Linked DNA regions of Homo sapiens: region 1 is linked to region 2. The links are contacts of gene promoters, found by promoter capture Hi-C in blood cells and fetal thymus (Javierre and others, 2016). All regions are on one chromosome and are shown on one strand. Each heading gives the region's core, a stretch centred on a gene start or on the middle of the fragment in contact. The rest is flanking DNA. Distances are from core to core; before and after follow the strand shown. Region 1 overlaps CDK6 (cyclin dependent kinase 6). Region 2 holds the start of CDK6 (cyclin dependent kinase 6).

Region 1 (7,396 bases), core at 366-2,865, 56 kb after region 2:
GATTCCAAATACTGGCTCTAGTTCAAGCAGAATTTTGTTGTGGCCCTTAGGTAGCTGTGCCAGACATCTCTCAGCTCTTGAACTATTTGATGTCCAAACATTGAAGAGAATGGGGGAAAAAAAAGTGACCGGAAAAAAATCCTCATAGAACTTCCTGTGAATGGGTCAAAGTTTAATCACAGCAAATAAGACAGATTTCCCTTTTATTGTAACCACAATAGAAAGGCAGGGCTTGTGTTTACAAAGCATGTTGTTTGGGAGACCTTTGTAAATTGTAATCTTTGGAAATCCCAAACCTATTGGATGTAATCCCATCCATTAGATGAAGGCAACTTGCCTATGCAATAGTTCCAGAAGAGCAAGTTAAATTGAGAACATGAACAGGAAGTAGTCATTAAGAATTACAATGGGTAGGATGCAGAGTTAATTCAGAGAGATATTTTGTTATTAGATAATTACATCACTAGGACAGCTGGAAAACTGAGTGCTGTGCTGGACTGCAAGCCTTGTTCTCTGCCCTGCAGCTGGCGGGTCAGGACAATAGAGACAGCAAGAGAACTTACTTTGTGGGAGAGTTAGGGGCTTGGCCAACTTAATTGTGAAATGATAACGACCTATCTGCCTTTTTTGGATTGCATTTTGCACAGCTAAACTGAAGGCATAGCCTTAGTTAATGCCAATAACCAGTTTGCACTTTGACTTTTTGAACATTCACTTGGATCACATTATGCTAAGCTCTAATGGATAAATATTTAATGGTAATTTTCCTTTCCTTTAAAAGTCATCTGAGATATTTTGTTCATATTCAATACATTGTGATTACATTTTTCTTATGGAACTGCTGTCATGTAATTCTTGAAATGGTATTTTTGTCAGGTTACAGATTAGCAAAAATTTTTAAAAAAAGGTTTTAGAAAGTCTTAAAATATTGGTCAATATAAGGAATCATGCAGTTGTAGCTATTTTCCAGTTTTTTGGGGTTTTTTTGGTTTTTTTTGTTGTTGTTGTTGTTTTTTGTTTTTTTGTTTTTTTTTTTTTTTTGAGATGGAGTCTCGCTCATTGCCCAGGCTGGATGGAGTGCAGTGGCACGGTCTCGGCTCACTGCAAGCTCTGCCTCTCAGGTTCACGCCATTCTCCTGCCTCAGCCTCCCAAGTAGCTGGGACTACAGGCGCCTGCCACCACGCCCGGCTAATTTTTTTGTATTTTTAATAGAGATGGGGTTTCACCGTGTTAGCCAGGTTGGTCTCGATCTCCTGACCTCGTGAGCCGCCCTCCTCGGGCTCCCAAAGTGCTAGGATTACAGGTGTGAGCCACCGCGCCCAGCCTATTTTCCAGTTTTTACATTCAAGTGTTCAGACCTGTCTGGCTCTTTTGTTTTGCAAGTGTAAGGGTTCTAGGTAGCCTAGCCCCATTCCTTATTGATTTATATAAATACATTACAGATTGTTTACCTCTAGCCAAATACCAGGGATTTTAATTCATGCTTAGCTCAGTTGTTGTATATGAAACTCATTTGTTATATTAAAGTTTCTGGCCGGGCACAGTGGCTCACGCCTGTAATCCCAGCACTTTGGGAGGCCAAGGCAGGTGGATCACTTGAGGTCAGGAGTTCGAGGCCAGCCTGGCCAACATGGTGAAACCCATCCTTACTAAAAATACAAAAATTAGCCAGGCATGATGGTGCATGCCTGTAGTCCCAGCTACTCGGGAGGCTGAGGCAGGAGAATCACTTGAACCCAGGAGGTTGCAGTGAGCCAAGATTGCACCACTGCACTCCAGCCTGGACAACAGAGTGAGACTCCATCTTAAAAGAAAAATAAGAATAAAAATAAAGTTTCTGTTTTCTCTTTATTGCCCACCAAAGTGACTATTATTTGATTTGGGGCAATTCCAGAGGGAGTCATTGTAGACAAAAAAAAGCATCATAAATATTATAGTCTAGCATTTCTAAGATTAATGTTTACAACCATTGATTCAAAATGCATTTCCTACCCATTGTGACTAATATAACTGTTAATTTTTAGTACAATGTTTACTAACCATTAATCAGACATAATTTAAGTCAGACAAAATTTCATAGTTTTGGGAAGAGCAATATTTCCCCAGATGTCTTCCATGGAGTACTAGGTCTGTAGGATGTGGATGGCTAGCCAGCACTGGAGCCAAAAAAGAGAGTATCCTACAGGCACCCTTAGGACTCTGATGTCCCTTGATGCCCTTTGTGAATGTCTGAGAAGTCTCTAATATGCTCCATTTCCTGAATGAAGTTAATAATAATGGCACCTTAAAAATTAAAAAGGATTATTTCCTTGAACCTGGAGGAGTCACTTCTACCTAATACCATTTTTTAAGAATATGCAAGTATATACATTAAAATTTATGTGAAAATGTTCTGCTCTATGGACTATTACACATCTCTTTAAAATTCCATGTTTTAAAAACTACCGATTGAAATGAGTCCTTTTTTCTCCAAGGTTTATCATTTAGGACAATTAGTAGTGGCTTCAGTGAGCTCACCTTTCGTATCTTGAGCATCCATTGAAACTGAGGCCTGGAGTCCAGTTGCTGCAGGTGGCATCAGTGAGTCTTAATATTTTGAAGAGAGCAGTATAACTCTGAGGAAAGCAACTTGGGTGGGTTAGATGTTATTTTTAAATTGTGTCATGCAAAGAGTGCTTGAAAACGGTTTCAGTGAGATGAAGCAACAGGGCATACTGCCAGGGTTGTTAGGTAACTTCTAAGACAACGGTCCAGGGGGCAGATGACTTTTTGTTTCAGCAGTATTTTAGGATCACTTTATTCTCCAGTTATGCCCCCGTCAGAATTTTTTCTCTTTTGGAAATTACTATAATATCTTATATATATATATATATATATATGATAAACTATAAATGCAGTAAGAACTGGAGTTACTAAAATTACTATTGATTCCAGGTAGTGGTAAGCAATGTAATTTTTTCACTAAATATATTAATTATAATGGGAAATATTTTTAAAGTAATGTTTCAGAAACACAACTGAAATGGTCATAGTATGAAACAGCTCTGTGTTTGTATTTGACTTTAGGGACATGCCATTTTTGGTTCACTGCTCTTTTATTTTATTACAAAAATACAAGCAACAGATATAAAGAAAGTTGGGGATTGTGGAACTCCATTTTCTTTTTCAATAGGAAGAAAAGAGTGAAGTTGTCCAAGTATGTGGATTTAATAGCAATAAGCTGGCTTAAAAAAGCCTGTGAATAGTTGTAGTTATCTTGAATTATCAAGGCAAAAGAACTGTTTTGATAAATTTTCCACATATTAAATCCATGCATGATAGCAATCATATTTTTAGAGTGTGAGACTTAATATGATTTATGGTACTATCTTTAATAAATCTGTTAAGAGTTTTTACTTTATTGGAATAATTTTCCAGAATAAGTAACATTAGGGGAAAATATTAAGTTTAGGAATGGATATTAAAACTTAAAAACCAGAATGTTTAGAAGTAGATAAATGTGAGGAAAAAATTTTCAATGGATTCTGGTTAATTTTAATGGAGTTGTATAATTCACCCCAAACTGCCCATAATTAAAAAGAAGCTTGGATCTGGCTATGAAGCATGTGTAGTTGTTGGTGTTCTGTTTTTTGACCTGCCAGATTTAACCTAATTACAGTGGTGGGGTTTTTTTGTTAAGTGTTTTTTGTTTTTGGTTTTGGTTTTTTTTTTTCGTTTCCTTTAAAATTTAGTATAGATTCACAGAGAAGTCCAAATGTGGGGTCCATAAAGCCCAGAAATGCAGAAGGATGACATGGTGAACCAGCAAGGCATTAAAAGTTTAACAGAGGTCCTAGGAATACAACCCAAAAGGGATGTGAAGGACCTCTTTAAGGAGAACCACAAACCAGTGCTCAAGGAAATAAGAGAGGACATAAACAAATGGAAAAACATTCCATGCTCATGGACACAAAGAATCAATATTGTGAAAATCGCCATACTGCCTAAAGTAATTTATATATTCAATGCTATCCCCATCCAGCTACCATTGACTTTCTTCACAGAATTAGAAAAAACTACTTTAAATTTCATATGGAACCAAAAAAGAGTCTGTATAGCCAAGACAATCCTAAGCAAAAAGAACAAAGCTGGAGGCATCATGCTACCTGACTTTAAACTATACTACAAGGCTACAGTAACCAAAACAGCATGGTACTGGTACCAAAACAAATATATAGACCAATGGAACAGAACAGAGGCCTCAGAAATAATGCCACATGGCTGGGCACGGTGGCTCACACCTGTAATCCCAACACTTCAGGAGGCCGAGGTGGGCAGGTCACCTAAGGTCAGGAGTTTGAGACCAGTCTGACCAACATGGAGTAACCCCGTCTCTACTAAAAATATAAAATTAGCTGGGCGTGGTGGCCCATGCCTGTAATCCCAGCCACTCGGGTTGGGAGTAGTACTTGGCTGAGGCAGGAGAATCGCTTGAACCTGGGAGGCGGAGGTTGTGGTGAGCCAAGATGTGCCATTGCACTCCAGCCTGGGCAACAAGAGCGAAACTCCTTCACAAAAAGGAAAAAAAAACAAGAAAGAATGACACATATCTACAACCATCTGATCTTTGACAAACCTGACAAAAACAAGAAATGGGGAAATGATACCCTATTTAATAAATGATGTTGGGAAAACTGGCTAGCCATATGCAGAAAACTGAAACTGGACCCCTTCCTTATACCTTATACAAAAAGTAATTCAAGCTGGATTAAAGACTTAAACATAAGACCTAAAACCATAAAAACCCTAGAAAAAAACTTAGGCAGTACCATTCAGGACACAAGCATGGGCAAAGACTTCATGACTAAAACACCAAAAGCAACGGCAACAAAAGCCAAAATTGACAAATGGAATAAAATTAAAGAGCTTCTGCACAGCAAAAGAAACTATCATCAGTGAACGGGCAACCTACAGAATGGGAGAAAATTTTTGCAATCTATCCATCTGACAAAGGGCTAATATCCAGAATCTACAGGGAACTTAAAACAAATTTACAAGAAAAAAACAACCCCATCAAAAAGTGGACAAAGGATATGAACAGACATTTTCTCAAAAGAAGACATTTATGAGGCCAACAAACATATGAAAAAAAAGCTCATCATCACTGTTCATTAGAGAAATGCAAATCAAAACCACAATGAGATGCCATCTCACACCAGTTAGAATGGCAATCATTAAAAAGTCAGGAAACAACAGATGCTGGAGAGGATGTGGAGAAACAGGAATGCTTTTACACTGTTGGTGGGAGTGTAAATTAGTTCAACCATTGTGGAAGACAGTGTGGCAATTCCTTAAGGATCTAGAACCAGAAATACCATTTGATCCAGTGATCCCATTACTGAGTATATACCCAAAGGATTATAAATCATTCTACTGTAAAGACACATGCACACATATGTTTATTGCAGCACTGTTCACAATAGCAAAGACTTGGAATCAACCCAAATGCCCATCAATGATAGACTGGATAAAGAAAATGTGGCACATATACACCATGGAATACTATGCACTCATAAAAAATGATGAGTTCATGTCCTTTGCAGGGACATGGATGAAGCTGGAAGCCATCATTCTCAGCAAACTAACACAGGAACAGAAAACCAAACACTCATGTTCTCACTCATAAGCGGGAGTTGAACAATGAGAACACATGGACACAGGGAGGGGAACATCGCACACCAGGGCCTGTCGGGGTGGGGGGGTTAGGGGAGGGATAGCATTAGGAGAAATACCTAATGTAGATGATGGGTTGAAGGGTGCAGCAAACCACCATAGCACGTGTATACCTATGTAACAAACCTGCACATTCTGCACATATATCCCAGAACTTAAAATATAATAAAAAAAATTAACGGAGGTAATATGTAAGCAGGATAATTGATAGTCAACCCTGTGCATCAGTTATTGGACTCTATGCACATTTATAGTTTCTTTGAAGAAGGCATTTATTCAATTTTTTTTAAAAATTAAAGTAATATGAATAGTATTTTATTAGCTTTTTCTTAGTATTTATATTACATTCTTGTTAAGAAATGTACTTACAGCTTGTTTATGGGTAGTTTAATTCTTCAAACATTTGGTGAGAATCTGTTGTGCTAAATAGTGTACTGTGGTTGAAACGAAAGGAAATTTTGTCCTTTGGCTTGAATATTCTTTTGACTCCTGAAGGCTTAGTTTTTAAAACTTAAATTTTGTCTTATTTTAAGATTTTTATGGAAGAAACTGGATTCACCCATCCAAAACATTTGTTAATCTGTTGCTTTATTATTTAAGGGCAATATAGTTTACCAATGCAGGTCCCCCTACCCCTGAAAAAAAAGTTTAAATTTTACAATGTTGATTAACATGGTATTGGAATTTTAAAAACTAAGAATGTATGCCCTTTCCAGGGAATGATTTGACTCAGCAGGATGAGGGCTGTCTTAGAAATAAACTAAATTTCTCCATATTCCATCATATTTGTTTTCACAGACATGGTTGTGACACCTTAAATTCCAGGAAAATCTTGATTACAACATTCAGCATCTCCAAAGGATGCTCAATCTATCTCTAGTAATTCTCAAACTGTGAGCTAAGAAGAAACATATTTTGCCTAGACATCAAGTTTTTGAAATTATCCCCATTGGCAAGTTCTATCTAAGGTCCTAACTAAGGAAACTCTCCAAGCGTTCTTGTGCTCCAAGCGCGTTGCTTTCTCATTGTTACTATAGATGTTCTCATGCTTAACCGCACACTCTGAGTGCCCCTCTCCTGAACTTCATGTTGTTATTAAAGTATCAGATCTCATTTGATATCTTTACATATGATCACAAGAAATGATCAACACTGGCCTTTTTTTTCTATTATGAGACCAAATTGAGCGATATGTATAAAACATACAGGTTACTTCTTTGCTTATTGCCACCTACTTAACCTCTTTGTTTTTTCTTCTAGGTTGTTTGATGTGTGCACAGTGTCACGAACAGACAGAGAAACCAAACTAACTTTAGTGTTTGAACATGTCGATCAAGACTTGACCACTTACTTGGATAAAGTTCCAGAGCCTGGAGTGCCCACTGAAACCATAAAGGTATCAAGAATCATCTTCATGTCTTATCAGGCAGTCGACTATTATAGTCTGTTAAGCAATGGCTTTCTTTCCTTATGAAAATTGCCACAATTACAACTTTTAGAATTCGGTATATAGTTAAAAAAATCAAAGAAAATGTTCAAAGATTGGGATATATTCCAGTTCATCAACTAAGTGAGATGTTCAAAGTACAGACATATGTATTCTAGTTCATTAATTTTAGAACTAAGTGGAAAAAAAAACCTTTAGTTCTAATGCATATTAAAATTATTTAAAAATACTTAGTT
Region 2 (7,226 bases), core at 429-2,928:
GATTATAGATAGCTTTATAAATACAAATTTTGTTCAGAAAACTGGATCTTATTTTAGAAGACATGCTCTTAACACAAATGTATTTTATGAATTATCTTAAGCTTAAAGACATACAATTATTCACTTTTATTTTTAAAGAAAAAAGTATTATAATGCATTGCAAAATATGTGCTACTGAAAATGCATCAATTTTTATTTCCCTAGCCTTACCTCACACTATAACATAGAATCAGTTTTATAAAGGCAAAAATTTGATTTACTGTGAGATTAGTAACATGGTTTTAAAGTCAAAAGATTTATAGAAGTAGTATTTCCAATTCAAACAGAATTTTGCCAGGTTTTAATTTTTCTACAAAGCACTTAAGTAAATAATTTTGTGAAAAGTTTTGCTTTAAGATGTTTTAAAGGGTTTCAAGTATTCTACAGATAGAGATTTTGGGGAGAACACCAAATTCTTTCCAAAAAGACAGCTATTTCAAGTTTTCTTTTACTCCATTGTAGAAAGTTTTAAAGACTTTTTTTTCTCCAAAATCTAATTTTCACCTGAAATAATTGTATTCAAGGGTTTCTCAGCAGGTAAAGTATACATTCTTACAAGGTTTCAAATTTCAGATTTCCAATAATGCATTTAAACTGAGCACTCCTCTTTTTGTGTATGTATCTACTATCTGCAGTTCTATTATTTACACTAAATTTTAGTCTTTTTAGCTCCTCTGAAATACGTTAGTGAACCCTCAGCAGTTACTAACCACTTAATAATTGTGAGCCCGCCAGCCCCTTCAAGTAGATCGTTAACCATAAGAGTGCCTGACAATTTCCAAACCATATCCTCTGTCTAAAAGGAAAAGATAGGGCTTTGTGAGGCAGAAAGGAAGCGAAGGAAAACAAAACAAATGTAGCTCATGCTGAAAGTGAAAAGTGCTTGGATAGATTAGTATTTTCTTTTCTGCAAGGCATCCTGCCAAACTTTTTCTTTATTTTTTTAAGAGAAGAGTTATTTTTTGGTCTGATTTTTCAGTTTCTTGGAAAGTATTGGTATTTACCACCCCCATTGGCCGCTCATAATTATTGTTGGTTGTTTTGTGTTTTTCCCATCCGTCCACGTCACACAGTGAGGATGCCCCCCGCTTCACCCTGTCAAAACCCCAACTCTGGGCGACCCTGGGTTTGGAAACTCCGCCGACTCCCGACGACACGTCCCACTCTCTCCCACTAATGCCGCTTATTTTAGTCGCAGGATCCCCCTACTACAGTTTCAGCGAAAGCCGGAAATTTTCATTTAACTCTCCCCCCCACCCCCACCCCCACCGCGCCCTTCTAGCCCCCGACTCGTAGAAGGGAGCTAGGGAGCCCGGAGCTCGGAGCACTGCCGGGACTCGGCCGCCTCATTTCTCTCCGGAAGGCTTTAATTTGCACACTTTCTTGCCACTGCGCCACGAGCCCCCAGCCCCGCCGGGGGGTGGGTCTCCGGCAGAGTTGGCTTCGCGGGTCCCTGCCCCCACCCCGCACGGTCGCCCCAGCTGCCTCCCCGGCTGGGGCCCCCAGCGCCGGCCGGAGCCCAGCGGCCCCCGTCCGCCCCCAGCGAGCGGCGCGGGCGGCGCCCTCCGCCGTCCCTCCGCCCTCCGCCGCTGTGCCCACCCCCTCGCCGGAGAGAGTGCTGGTAACTCCTTCCCCAGAGTCTGATTACCTGCTCCGCGAGGCCGCGGACACGTGCGGAGAGCCGACTGACACTCGCAGCCCCCTCGGGAGGCCCGACGCGACTGGGCCCCTCAGGTGAGGAGCTGTGCGCTCGGGTGGGTGGGCTGCGGGGTGGGGGGTCCCGGGGGAGATCTGGGGGATTGGCCGGGGTCCGAGGCAGAACTGTGGGTGGGGTAAGTGGAGGGTGGCGGGGGGTGGGGGGGACCTGTGTTTCCTTGGAATCGGCTTTGGTTAACCCCTTACGAACTGAGACGGGATTGGTTATGGGGGCCAGTTTTGGGGAGCTAGAGGATTCTCCTTATCTGATGAGAGGGGGAGATCCCAGCCTAGGGACACCCGCGACACCGAGATCCTGCTTCCACGTATCCGTACGCACACACACCCACACGGAACACGCCTCATACAGTTTCTCCAAACGGAACTGGAACTCTACTCGGACACTCACATAATAATTCACATTTAGGGTTTAAAATGCACTGCCTCTAGGGACTCCATGCTGGAGAATGTGCTTGCATTTCCCCCTCGAAAACTCCCTCTCCAGCTCGCTGAGGTGTGGGTGTGGGCTCCACCTTCCCCTCCACGAGATAAATGTTAACGCAGGCTTCCTGCGGGCGTGTTATACACAGAAAAGTGCACGCAGCCGGCCAGTGCCCAGGCTTGGAGCCCCGCGAAGACGCACGTTTGCTGTAGTTTCCAAGTTTACTTTTATAATTTAAAATATTGGAGTTAAACACACGCCCCGCAGTGAGCAGCCCTGGTCCCCGCAGCGCGCCCGTCCGTGTGCATATGGGCGCATCTGCGTGTGCGCACACGCGGGAGTCGCGGTCCCCGGTGTGGCCTCTTGTCGCTGTGCTGGTGGCGACCCTTGTGGTGCTTGGCAGGCTTCGGGAGAGGCGCATGAAGGATTTCATTGAGTGTGAAGACAGAGAGCAGAGACAGAAAGCAGAAGGAGGCGGCTGCAGCCTTTGTAGTCGCGGAGGAATGCGGAAATGTTGAAGCACTATGTCAAACTTTTTTTGAAATGGGGTCAAGTCACATTCAGCCAGCGTGGGAAAGCAACAACAACAACAAAAAAAAGTGGAGGAGAGGGGGGGAAAAGGCATTGCTGCTCCCGTTTCTCTCCGCCGAAGCCGACCGTCTGGGGGGCGAGTGGGGGGAGAGCCAGGGCAGTGCGGGGCCCGGCGGGGGCAGCAGGCGCAGTTCCCTGCGGGGGTGGGACGTCCCCGACGCTTCCTTCGCTGCGGAGCCCGGGGCTAGACTCGAGCGGGAGGGGGTTGGGGGGATGCAGGACAGGCGGGTTGGGCGGCCGGCGGCGGCTCCCCGGCTACCTGTGTGGCCCTCGACCTGGCTCAGACCCCCGGGCAGTCCCTGGGGGCTCTTTCCTCGGCTTTTAAGGAAAGTTCTGAATGTAGTGAGTGCCAGAAGCTCTGCTCTCGCCGCGGTCCGCTCCACCCGCTCATCGTGGGGGTCGCGCCGTTTGTTTAATTCCTGGCAAAAGGCGAGCGGGCCAGCGGTTGCGAGGCAGGTAATTCCGAGGTGCCCCGGGAATTCCGGACATGCGGCCGTCGTGGTGAAAGTCCTGCCGAGGCCGCGGCGGCCCTGGAGGAGGGAGGCCCCCTAGGTCCCAGATAGCTGCTGAATGGGGAGGGAAAGTTAGGGTACCCTACTCTGGCGCTTTGTTGTGCAGAGGGCTCCGGGGGCGTCCGGCTGCAGACTGGACCGGGCCTTTAGCCGGAGGGGGAATGGGGCAGCCACCTCTGCTACCTACAGCGGGGAGGTCCTGGGAATGGGAAAAGGTTCGCGAGTCCGGGCCCCGAGGACAGAGACCTTCTCTCTCACCCCTGGAGGCGCAGGATTTAACCCCCCACCCCCCACCCTTTGAAAGGGAGGTTGAGTTTTGCTCAGGTCGAAATCAGTTTAAAACTTAAGGACGAGGCGCGATTATGCTATCCCCTTCCTGAAGTTATTCTTTAAGGAGACGACAAGCGAAATTGTGGCGAACACCCCTTTCTCCCACCCTTGGGATCCCGTGGGGGACGGTGTCTCCCCTCCCCCAGGACCGCTCGCTCGCCCACCCCCGATAAGCCCCAACCCTCCCCGACCAGATGGCTGGTCTTCCCAAGGTTTCCACCAGGGAGGTCCTCCCAGCCGGAGAGAGAATTCCGTTTCCAACCGAGACTCCTTTACCCCAAAAAGACCATTTGTGTATGCGAGTCGTTTTTAAATGTCTCCTCGTAGAAAAACTGAAAGTAGAAAGAAAGGAAGCAATTTCTGAGCAGATGTCTGACCACCCCTTCTCGCACACTCCCAGCATCGGGTTACAGGGTCCTGGGAGCCCCCACCCACATTCTGCGGCCCCACACGGATGGACCCACAGTCCTTCCGCTCCAGCTTGTGCGCGACCCCTGAACGCCCTCCGGCACCCCTGGACCCCGTCTCCCTGCACGTCCGGGCCTCAGGAGGCGGGGAGGGTAGCGGCGCAACACAATGATATAGGGATAAATATTAAGCCGTGACATTGACGTGCCCGGCGCCTCCCCTCCCCCGCGCTCCCGGCACACTCTGGGCTGCTCGGCACGCCCCCTCCCGTTCCACTGCGTCCCGCGCCGCTCGCTCATCCCCGAGGGGCCCCTGCAACCTCTCCGCGCGAAGACGGCTTCAGCCCTGCAGGGAAAGAAAAGTAACTTCGCTTTTCTCGGAGGAACCAGGAAGGATTAAGCGGCTTGGGAGAGGGCAGGAGCGCGCGGAGGGTAGCGATGGAGGCTTCGTAAAGGAGGAGGAGGGGAGTCTGGAGGAACCCCGAGGAAGGCTTCTGGGCTGTCTGATTGCACTTTCTTCTTATCCTCCCGTCTCCTCCTTTAGGTGCAATGATTCTGGACTGAGACGCGCTTGGGCAGAGGCTATGTAATCGTGTCTGTGTTGAGGACTTCGCTTCGAGGAGGGAAGAGGAGGGATCGGCTCGCTCCTCCGGCGGCGGCGGCGGCGGCGACTCTGCAGGCGGAGTTTCGCGGCGGCGGCACCAGGGTTACGCCAGCCCCGCGGGGAGGTCTCTCCATCCAGCTTCTGCAGCGGCGAAAGCCCCAGCGCCCGAGCGCCTGAGCCGGCGGGGAGCAAGTAAAGCTAGACCGATCTCCGGGGAGCCCCGGAGTAGGCGAGCGGCGGCCGCCAGCTAGTTGAGCGCACCCCCCGCCCGCCCCAGCGGCGCCGCGGCGGGCGGCGTCCAGGCGGCATGGAGAAGGACGGCCTGTGCCGCGCTGACCAGCAGTACGAATGCGTGGCGGAGATCGGGGAGGGCGCCTATGGGAAGGTGTTCAAGGCCCGCGACTTGAAGAACGGAGGCCGTTTCGTGGCGTTGAAGCGCGTGCGGGTGCAGACCGGCGAGGAGGGCATGCCGCTCTCCACCATCCGCGAGGTGGCGGTGCTGAGGCACCTGGAGACCTTCGAGCACCCCAACGTGGTCAGGTGAGCCAGGGAGCTGCGCCCTCGCCATCTGGGGCCTCGCGCGCGCGGGGAGGGCCGAGCCGGGAATCCTCAGGCCCAGAAAGGTGCGGGGCAGAGGGCGACTGGGGAGGTCCTGCGCGACCTGTTGGTCTTACAGAGTGAGAGTTAAGTTTTGTCGACAGAGCCGCGAGCCAGAGCCGGTGACCTTGCCAGACAGCGAGCCGAAAGACAAGTCAAAAAAACATGACCTGAGCAGGCTTCCCTGCAGCTGTGCAACTTAGAAGCGTTTTCTCCCTGCCCACCCTGAAGGAGGGTCTGGGGGAAGTGGGTGCGTTTTAGGGACAGGATAAGCCAACCTGAGACATGCCCCGCTAGCCCCCGCATATTTTTCGTGGCCATGCCGTTGGGGAATTTTTGAAAGACAGAGTAGGTGAGACTGGAGAATGAGGATGCCGTGTGATAATCAGTGGGAACTTTATGGGTGGAGCCAAGTGTAAATCAGGTTAACAAGATGCAGAAACATCATAATATTTTTGCCAGTCATACTCTCAGTTTCTCTTTATTAAAGTTGCGTAGTAAGAATGACTCCTGGTGGTCTAAGGAGTTTGAGTGCTGATGCCCAATCTCAAACAGCGTCATAAAAATTTCTTCCAAAACTGTTATCCCTGTGTCTGTTTTACTTTATATCTCTGGGCGGACATACTCTTTAGACTAATTCTCCAAAGGGTTAAATGTGAGTCCAAGATGTGGTATGGTTAGATCATAAATGTTCTGCCCATGCTTTTCCCAGATGGATTGTGCGAGTGGGTGGGGAGACAGCAGTTCTTACTCTCTCCTGTGTGGTAACCAGTATTAAATGAAAATGTGTGACTTAGGATAATGGTGTTTTCTTAGTGATCCTGGAATTTCCCCATTGTGTGGTTGACATTGTTTGGTTGTGTCATCCTTTTCTTTTTTAAACAGAGATGCATAGCTTTACATTGAAAAGGAATGCCTAGAAACTTCTGCAAATTGGGTTGTGATTTTACCTTTCTCGATCTTGAGAAAATGTGTAGCAGAAATATCTTTTTTCTCATCCATTTAGGGCTTCTGTTCAACAAATACATGCCTACTGTGTGCGCTGAGGATGAAATGATGTAAATAAGCACAGCTAAATATTTTTGTAAAAAGTCAAACAATTTAACATTAGTCATCAAAGTGGAGAGACCCAAGACTGACCTTTGAAATACCAAACTCTCTACAGACTCAGAGAGACCAAATATCTACAGAATCTTCTTGGGAGGTTTTAACTTGTCTCCTCTTATCCCAGGCTGGTGATTTGTGCGGTGCTTTGTTCCCAACGCAGTTTAGACTCAAGCTAGAAGGCATCAAAGAATCATAAATATATAAATAAGGCAGTAAATGGTTATAAAGTTAAGACCGCATTATACCTCGGCCTAGCTAGTGAAGGAGAATGAGTGTTTTAGAAGATGAGATTATATATAAAAACCTATAGATGACTTTTTTTCATGTGTATTTTATTTGTTAAAAACAACAAAATCCGTTTTTGGGGCTCTTTGTGATATTGGAGGGAAAAGGGGAGGGTATATTTAGCCCCCTGTAACTCAGCTGTCGTCCTAGGGGAATCACCTAATACATCCCGAAGGATGAATTCCACCACTACAATTTTAAGACGGAAGTTCTTGTTTTATTTTGTCTGTTACCTATGGAGTATCCAGTTAAGGGTGCTTATCATGTATATGAATGAATAGTGTCCTTCCAAACGTAGAGGTACTACAGAGGCACCCCTGTATAACACTATTGTTTACAAAGCTTACGCCATTCTTATACCAGAGGCACACTTTCTGCCATTGTGCTTGTAGATTTTGTCTGATCCATCCTATTCTCTTGATTTATCCTCCTGAGATTGATGTGTTTCTAGACGTTTCTAACTGACCCATGACTTGGATTCTGTACTGTGAATTTCAGGAGGATATTCTTATGAACTGAAGACAAAGGCATTGTTTTCTAAAATTATTTTTACGTGTTAAGGTGATGATGGCACCTACCTGTTAAAGTCGTGAGAATAAAATGAGATGGCGTATGTG

What was found. Contacts are between HindIII fragments. The CHiCAGO score rates a contact against its expected background, and 5 or more counts as called.
Region 1: a contact is called between a fragment that was not itself captured here and the fragment with the promoter of CDK6 in region 2, in 1 of 17 cell types (fetal thymus). The highest score is 5.1, in fetal thymus.

What each region holds. Positions count from the first base shown.
Region 1 is chr7:92,774,409-92,781,804 of GRCh38, reverse strand. It overlaps CDK6 (cyclin dependent kinase 6), which reads left to right. Exons shown (of 8, transcript NM_001145306.2): 3 at 6,974-7,109. Among named protein-coding and RNA genes, the nearest start is that of CDK6-AS1, 58 kb to the left of the region's middle. The HindIII fragment of the contact is 3,942 bases long and covers 1-3,586 here.
Region 2 is chr7:92,831,025-92,838,250 of GRCh38, reverse strand. It overlaps CDK6 (cyclin dependent kinase 6), which reads left to right and starts at 1,678. Exons shown (of 8, transcript NM_001145306.2): 1 at 1,678-1,773; 2 at 4,561-5,160. The coding sequence starts at 4,928. CDK6-AS1 (CDK6 antisense RNA 1) reads right to left here and starts at 1,768. Exons shown (of 2, transcript NR_110088.1): 1 at 1,688-1,768. RefSeq lists silencers at 1,376-1,735, 2,846-3,095, 4,792-5,111 and enhancers at 2,186-2,265, 4,930-5,430. The HindIII fragment of the contact is 6,850 bases long and covers 104-6,953 here.